3 separate regions of the Homo sapiens genome follow, and all the other regions are linked to region 2. Evidence: promoter capture Hi-C in 16 types of primary human blood cells and fetal thymus (Javierre and others, 2016). All regions are on one chromosome and are shown on one strand. Each heading gives the region's core, a stretch centred on a gene start or on the middle of the fragment in contact. The rest is flanking DNA. Distances are from core to core; before and after follow the strand shown.

Region 1 (2,700 bases), core at 34-2,533, 1.7 Mb after region 2:
ACAAAAATTGAAGCCTCAATATGCCTTCCTAAAGGAACCATGTACATGTAGCAAGTTGAAACAACAGGCTAGATAAAATGGTTTGTATAATACTATGAATAATGATTAGTATATATCACATATAATTCTGAATAGGCTTATAAAAATATCAAAATAGTTAAAGAACATGTTAGAAATTCGAAGTTATTAAGCTGCATGTAAAAATATTTATCTTTGCCTTTAAAAATGTAAGAAATATATATTAAAATGAGGTGCAACATTCTTGCCCTCAAAATTTGCAAATCTAAAAACCGTAATGCCAAATACCTGGAGGAGTATTATGAGAAGGGCACTTTCCTATATTGCTGATGGCATTGTAAATTGATATAACCTTTTTGGGAAGCAATTTGGCAATGTGTTACAAGAATCATAAAAATGTTCATACTCTTTTAACCTAGTAATTCTACTTCTGGGAATCTATCCTAAGGAAATAATCCAAAATATTTTTTAAATGCTATATGCCTGACAGTGTTTATCCCAGTATAATTTATACTATATAAAAATGGAAACCACTCAAACTGTCCAACATAAGGACTATGCTTGGTAAATTATGGTTCATTCACTCGATAGAATATGATACATGAATATAAAATGGTGAGTATTATACCTAACAGTTTATCAATTCCTCCTTGTCAGAAAATCCTTTTCTATGAAATCAGCTCATGTCCTGCTTAGTTAAAAAGACTAACAAAAGTGTCATACATCATTTTTTAACTTATATTTTTACTTAACATTGTCACTTAAATTTTTCTGAGATGTCTTATAGCATCTTCTGTAAAATCAGGTTAAATGTATCCTTTCTGCTTCAGAAAACAAAGTTGTATCCATGATGGATGAAAAATGTATAATAGAGATTTGGAAGAAATATGCAAACAATTATTTTGGAATAAGTAGCCTGATTGCTTGTGATTCTGGCTACCTCTTCCATACTGCATAAATGGTTATCTAATTAGAAAAGACTCAATAAGGAGTAGTGTGCTTTCTTTTGGGGCTGCAAATAAAGTAGTTTAATTTGATATGATAATCAGGCTTATGTGCCAGTTGAACATCTATATAACTAAAGTAGTAAAACAAAATATTTTTACAGAATGTTTCTGTTTCAAGAGTAAGACTTTTAGTTTTATTCAGGTCCATTTTAAAGGCTCATTATAATTTATAAAGATCTCAAAAATCTTTTATGCCTAGTAAAATATCAAAGTGTATATGATTTTAACTTCTCTGGATTATAATATCCCAAAATAACTCAGACAAAGTAAATATCCCAGAGTAATGTGAATGAGTTAAAAAAACAGTGATACAGAATTTTCAAAAAGAATATATGTTCTGTGTGGTAGAGGTAAGGAACATCTCCAACTTAGATTCATAAAGGAATGACCACTTAGTATCAGTACTAATAATCCAGAAAAGGATGTTGAGGTACTAGACTTTTTCTACCGATGAAATTAAGGATTAGAGACAATAAATCACTTTCCTAAAGTCTTAAAGGTAGCTCTTGACAGAACTGTGCAAAGCACTTTGGAATTCTATGCCCATTCTGCTATGCTGTCCTATCTACCAGGGCACAGAGTCCAGTCTCCCAAGTCACCAGCTCCTGTAGAGATTGTCAAAAGACTGTCATCAGAAAGTTATTATAACTTTAACAGTCTTTTTGCATCTTTGTTCATAAACATGAAAGAGACCTTCTCTAATATGGTAGTATAAGTTCAGTAATCCTGTAATAATCATTCTCTATATAATCATCCTATATATTCTTGATAAGACTTATCACAATTTATAAGTAAATATTTATTTGTGTGATTATTTCTGCAATATTTTTCTCCCCCTACTAGAAGGAGGGAAGGTCCCATATCCATTTTTTGTGCCTAAGACAGTATATTGGCATACGTGGCATATAATATTTAGTAAAATAATTCTTGAATGAGACCAAGTTACCTTCATTCACACTCAGAGAGAGCCAACTGAAGGAAATGTTATGGAATAATAACAACAAGAAAAATTATCTTTTCACACTGCCTAATATATTTATGGAGCCAGTTTCATTAAAGACAGCATAGGCCAAGCATACAGGAATTGAAAGGTATTTAGAGAAATTAAAGGACAGTAGTTTCATACAGTGAAATAAATTAAAGATGTTTGGTATATGACTCTAACCTCTGAGATAAATGTCAGGGAGAACAATGACCACATTTTCTCACCCAATTTCTAATAAGATCATGATCAGAGAATGAGTACTGGACTGTAGACTTACGCTATTTTCTAAAAGTGTAGCAGAGCAGCACAGTTTTTCTAACCTGCTTAATAAAATGTCTGCGTAGAAGAGATCAAGTTCTGTGTTCTATAAAGCTAAAGTCTGGCAGTTAAGATTAAAATCAATCACCTCAATCAATCTCAGACTCATTGGCAGAGCAATTTAAAAGAACTGATGGAAAATAAAACTGTTATACATTTGGTCCAACTTTCTCTACTACTTTATCAAAACATCGTGGTCATTGACCCAGAAACCCAGCATCTTAAGTTTAAGTCCTAGTTAAAATGCTTCAGCCTTCTAGATGCCAGTTTCTTTATCAGTAAAATGAAGAGTCTGAAAGTCCTTTCCAATTCTGGAATCCCTATGATTTATGCTCTTGTTTAAATAAATAATGTTGAACACACTGAATTAAC
Region 2 (2,700 bases), core at 182-2,681:
AAAGACCTCTGACGAGCATCAGAACACAAAGGTGGCAATGAGCTACAGGTGCTTCCTCTTTCTACCCAGTTATAGCGTTGCCTGTAATACCTCTTCCTTTTAGCTACTTCTTTACCTCCTAAAGCTGTCTAATTTTCATTTTCAGCAGAATTCACTTGTAGGAAATGTCCTTGGGAGGGACTAGAAGGAAACATAGGGTTTTTTACTTCTCATATAACCCTACCAGAAATGACAGTGAAATATATTGTTATAATAGACAATCTACACAGCAGTCGATCTTCTTCCCGGAGTTTCCTCAGAAGGTGCTTATACTGAATTTAAGTAGAGGCCATTTTTTAAAAATAGTAGAAAAACAATTGTAAGTTACCAGTGTAATTTTATTGCAAAGTTCATGTTTGGTGTAAGTAGAAACAAAACACAAAAAGAGAAGGGAATCGGTTATTTAGACATACTCTCTGCAGGGCAAAAACAATCATTACTTCATCATATCACATTTCAACCACTATATTTTAGTTCCAAAGAGATCGTAATGCTTTGAAAAATCTAACGCTCCTCGCACCTCATTTCTGTTTTTCATTTAATCCTAAATGTATATTTAAAAATTTTTCTCTTTACCTGTGAATGGTCTTCAGCTCATTTCTAATACTTCCTTTTCATTCCACAAAAATATACCTTTGAAAAATATAATGATGTAGAGATTAACAAGTATCCAAACAAGAAAACAACCATCAGAAAAAGAGAGGGCATAGTCTCAATCAACACTTTGGGATAAGATGTTTCTCGCCCAGGGGTTGTTCTCAGCGTGGGTGTGGCCGAACTGCCCGTGGCCCGAGCTACCGGGCAGGTGGAAGCGCCAGGTAAATGCAAGGCGCAAGCTTTCGCATTGCCATCACTGCAGAGTGGGAGAGGGGAGAGGGGTAAAGATGAAGACACGGGGGAACAGGGCTGTTAAGTGTTGCTGGTGTCTGAAGTCTCAGGTCGGACTTAGGGAGAAAGTGTAAGTAACTGAGAGGGAATCGCTGGGCAGAGGAAGGGTGGTGTGAATAACAGGGAGGAGGAAGGTGGGGAGCGAGAACACAATATCCAGGTCTTAAGAGCGCACAGGAAGGGAGGTTCAGGCGCTCAGCCATTCCGCCCCTCCCTGACCGGAGGGCCCAGGCCACCACCGGCTCCAGCAAAGCCCTAGCCCCGGGCCCATGCCCACCTTGCCATCGCGGGGTCGCTTCCTGTAGCTACTCCCCCATCCTCAAACCCTGGCGGCGGACCCCGCCTGGCCGAGCCCAAGCACCGCGTGCAGGAGAGAAGCACACGCACTCTCCGACGGCCCAGCCGCGGCGCACGGGATTGGTGAGGTGCAGCCACACCGGCGACTACCAGCGCGCGGCCGGTACCGGTAGGTTCCTCACGCGCCGGTCTCCACGGCGAGCCGGGGCGGGGCCTGGCGCGGAGCATTGTGGGAAAGGCGTGGAGGACGCTGCCTGGGGAGACCCGCTGCGGGCCCAGCGGGCGCTGCGGCGGTGGGGTGGAGAGGGCGGTGTAGGTTTAGGTTGACGTGGCGGTGTGCGCGGGATCCGGCTCCGGCTCCGGCTCCAACCCGGAGCTGAGGGAACTGCCCTGGCCAAGCAGCCCGCGCCCCCTCACCAATGCGGCCGGCGCCTGCCGCGGGCGGGGAGGGTGGATGGCGAAGCCCGCCTCTTCCTGCTTCCGTTGCCAGGGTGACGGGGAAACCCAGAGGGTGGGTTTTGGGGTTGAGTTCCCTGAGAGTCTTTTAAAGGGAAGACGGAGCTTTGGAGGATTTGTCTGGGTGATGGGTGGGTGAGACCGAAAGGCGAAATTTGGCGGAGAAAGGAGAAGTTGCCTGAAGCGACACTGATTGCAGTATCAGGCTAGCGGACTGAAGAGGCAGTAGGAAACTTGAAGGAAATTAAAACATTTACAATTTTGTGTAAGCGTGTGTATCAACAAGCATTTGAGACTTCTACAATATTTTCTGGATTCTGAGTCATACAAGCTAGAAACTGGGGAGTTATCGTTGTTCTCTCTTACCTTGATCTCCTACTGCTATGGTACAGGAACTGCATTTTGTCCCACAGCAATATAACAATTGAAGTGGTTATATTTACTACATTTTCTATATTTAAAAGAGAAAACCGAGCCTAGAGGATACCTGCTTATAACATCAACCCTAACATGAAATAAGTTGTGATTGGTAACAGTTTCGGGGAGTAAATCAAGTGTCAGCTTCTAAAAACTTGGAAAACTACACAGGATCTATGGCTAAGCTAATACTTGGTAGGAAAGAAGAGGAAGTAGAATGAACAAAGGCAAACATTAGAAGCAGCCTGATGTAATAGTAGTTAATATGTCTCAGGAACTGGTCTAAGCACACATGTAGTAACTCATTTAGTCCTCCAAATAATCTTACAAGATAGTGGCTCCTATATCTATTTCCCATTTGAGGAAACTGAGGCAAATATTTGAGAGCTAGGATTCACATCTAAGCAACCTGGCTTCAGAGACTATGATGTTAAGCATTATGACACAGTGTGTAACCATTTTGTTACACACTGTAACAAAATCTTAAAGTAAATTGAAAAACAAACAGAAAACTGGAAGATGAAGCAGGGACCAGATCACAGACAGGTTTTTATACCAAGATGAAGACATAGATTTCTATCTCTTAGGTGATGAGGAAGCTTT
Region 3 (2,700 bases), core at 120-2,619, 1.7 Mb after region 2:
GAAGGAAGGACAACACCCATTTGTAAACCTAAACAATGACTGATTACGGAGCTACTGAAAATTTTTAGGCATGCTGATGTCACAATGGTTAAAAGGAGTCTTATCTTTTGAAAGTGCATAGTGAAATACTTGCATGTTTTAAGATATAGATGAAATGATGTCTGAGATTTTTTTAATGTAATAATGGGAGGGTGAAATGGACGGAGGCATAGATGAAGCCAGATTAGCCATGATTAGGTAACTACTGAAACTGGATAAAGGTTATATATATGGGGGTTCATCATACCAGCCTGTTTACTTTTGCATATGTTTCAAGTTCTCCAAAATTAAGAAACCTCGGCAGAAGGGAAAAGTGATAATTGCAACGTGCTTATTTTAGGGTTTTCAAAAGAAGAAAATGAGTATTTGGCATCTTCTAATGGAAATGTGGATAGTAAGCACCTGGGAAGATGAGAAAAATGTCTTTTAAAATTTTACAAGGACACTGGTGTAAACATAAAATGAAGAAAAATTAAAGGCACACTAGTTAAAACTGCCATTGAATTCCATATAAATTACATGTCTCTGAGTTTGCGTTCAAAGCCTTCAAATGCCAGGTTTCTTCTCATTGTGATACCAGGTAAATTTAGTACAAGCATATATATCACAAATCTAACAAATAACACCAATACCCTAAGAAACAAGTATGAGGCAAGAATAAATCATAAAGCCAATGCCTTATGGTACCCTCTATATTTTGCTGTTGCTACTGTTTAAATTAAGAAGACTACAGAAAGCAATAGGAAGCCATAAAAAATATGTAGCCACAATCTTCTGAGATCGATTCTCTTCGGGACCCTGAATAAATGGATTCTTGACCTACTAGAATTTAATGTGAGAAAATGATCCATTTGTAAAGGACCTATAAGACTGTAAATGGCAAAACTAACTACAAATAACCATCCTCAGAAAGGGAATAAACAGTGTTTATAAAAAGTGAGACGCATGGATGTAAAGGGGGATCATGATGATGATTTATAAGTGAAGGAAAATAAAATAAAAAGGTAACAAAATTCATGTTTCCCTAGGCCTTTCATTCAGACCAAAAGATGTGGAACTATACTCCCAAAAGCAATTTTGGACTAGAGATGTCTTTATTTTTCCCCAGACAAGCTGGAAGTTAAACAGAATGACAGAGTATATTTGCTCTGGAACACTAAAGCAGCAAAAAAACTTTGGAATGGCATAACTAGTCCAAAAGCTTCCAAAAAAGGCAGACTACACCACAGTTCCTTTCAAAGCTTCATTTGTTGTGAATAACCATAAAGTTAAAACAAGTATTATATACATCAAGGACCAAAAAGAAGGAACTGGGATTTTTACAAATTGAATGACCCTAAGCTGATCCTCACTATTGGTATTACTTTATCACCACCTACCGACGGGCACATCCAAAACAGATGTGATAAACAAGCTTTTGTTATTTCTCTATACACCCTTATAAAACTGATAGAATGTCAACAGAGATAAAAATCCCAAGGCTTTACAATTTAACTTTACTACTGCATTTAGACAAGATGCAAGGCACATATTTGATTCATAAAACTCATTAATGTCATCAATTTAAAATGAAATATATAAATGTGGTAGGTTGCCCTGAGAACATTAGTTCTGTTTTGTAAAGTGGAGCAGCCACTCTTCCAAAGAGACTCACTGGAAAAAGCAAATCCCAGCCTGATCAACATGGTGAAACCCTGTCTCTACTAAAAAAAAAATACAAAATTAGTTGAGTGTGGTGGCACATGCCTACAGTCCCAGCTACTCGGGAGGCTGAGGCAGGAGAATTGCTTGAACCCGGGAGGCAGAGGTTGCGGTGAGCTGACATTGCGCCATTTCACTCTAGCCTGGGTAACAGAGTGAGACTCTGTCTCCAAAAAGAAAAAAAAAGTTAGTCAGGCATGGTGGGGTGCGCCTGTAGTCCCAGCTACTCGGAAGGCTGAGGTGGGAGGATTGCTTGAGGCATATGTTCCAAATGTCAGAGCTACAAGATACACAGATATAAGTCAACACAGAGAAGAGCTGCCCAAGATAGTCCCTGGACCCACAGTGGTCTTCACATGAGTGAGAAATAAATCTTTATACATTGAGCCACTGAGCCTTCTAGGTTTGTTTGTAATCACAACACAACCAGAAAAATTTAACATCTCCTTTTATAGTCTAATTGCACTTAAATAATGCAAGGCAAAATACATCCAAAGTATTAAGTATTACTTAATACTTGTGTTTAAGAATTAAAGATTATCTTCCTTTCTGTGTAATACTGTGTATCTAGAATGAATGGAATGATTAAAAGAGTATTTGAAAGCAAAGTGGAAAAACAACCCAGTAAACAAAGAACAACTTAAAAACGAGTAGACACTGATAGTTTCACCTTAAGAGAAAAGAACTCTTAAGCATACAAGTTACAAGACAAAAAACCCAACAAACCAAAAACAACAACTGAGAAACCAAAATCAGCTATTAGGAAACAGGTAAAAAAGAAAGCAAAGCAAATGAAAATACCCTTTCATCATGAGTAGTAAGTAATTTCAGTCATGGTCACGTAACAGAAGTAGCAGAGCAGTCCCTACCTATCTGTGCAGTTCCACTTTCCACAGTTCCAGCTACTCTAGGTCAACCACAGTCCAAAAATATTAAATGGAAAAATTCCAGAAATAATTC

Evidence for each region. Contacts are between HindIII fragments. The CHiCAGO score rates a contact against its expected background, and 5 or more counts as called.
Region 1: a fragment that was not itself captured here is called in contact with the fragment with the promoter of DNAJC10 in region 2 in 1 of 17 cell types (fetal thymus); the score reaches 5.3 in fetal thymus.
Region 3: a contact is called between a fragment that was not itself captured here and the fragment with the promoter of DNAJC10 in region 2, in 2 of 17 cell types (activated CD4 T cells and naive B cells). The highest score is 7.0, in activated CD4 T cells.

Annotation. Positions count from the first base shown.
Region 1 is chr2:180,972,838-180,975,537 of GRCh38, reverse strand. No RefSeq gene overlaps it. Among named protein-coding and RNA genes, the nearest start is that of UBE2E3, 6.4 kb to the left of the region's middle. The HindIII fragment of the contact is 9,383 bases long and covers 1-2,700 here.
Region 2 is chr2:182,714,988-182,717,687 of GRCh38, reverse strand. DNAJC10 (DnaJ heat shock protein family (Hsp40) member C10) reads right to left here and starts at 1,431. Exons shown (of 24, transcript NM_018981.4): 1 at 1,205-1,431; 2 at 616-672. It also overlaps a transcript of PDE1A not described here. RefSeq lists a silencer at 1,039-1,198 and enhancers at 760-1,364, 1,709-1,778, 1,799-1,948. The HindIII fragment of the contact is 1,821 bases long and covers 878-2,698 here.
Region 3 is chr2:180,991,890-180,994,589 of GRCh38, reverse strand. The region is part of intron 3 of UBE2E3 (ubiquitin conjugating enzyme E2 E3); the gene reads right to left. Among named protein-coding and RNA genes, the nearest start is that of UBE2E3-DT, 12 kb to the right of the region's middle. The HindIII fragment of the contact is 173 bases long and covers 1,283-1,455 here.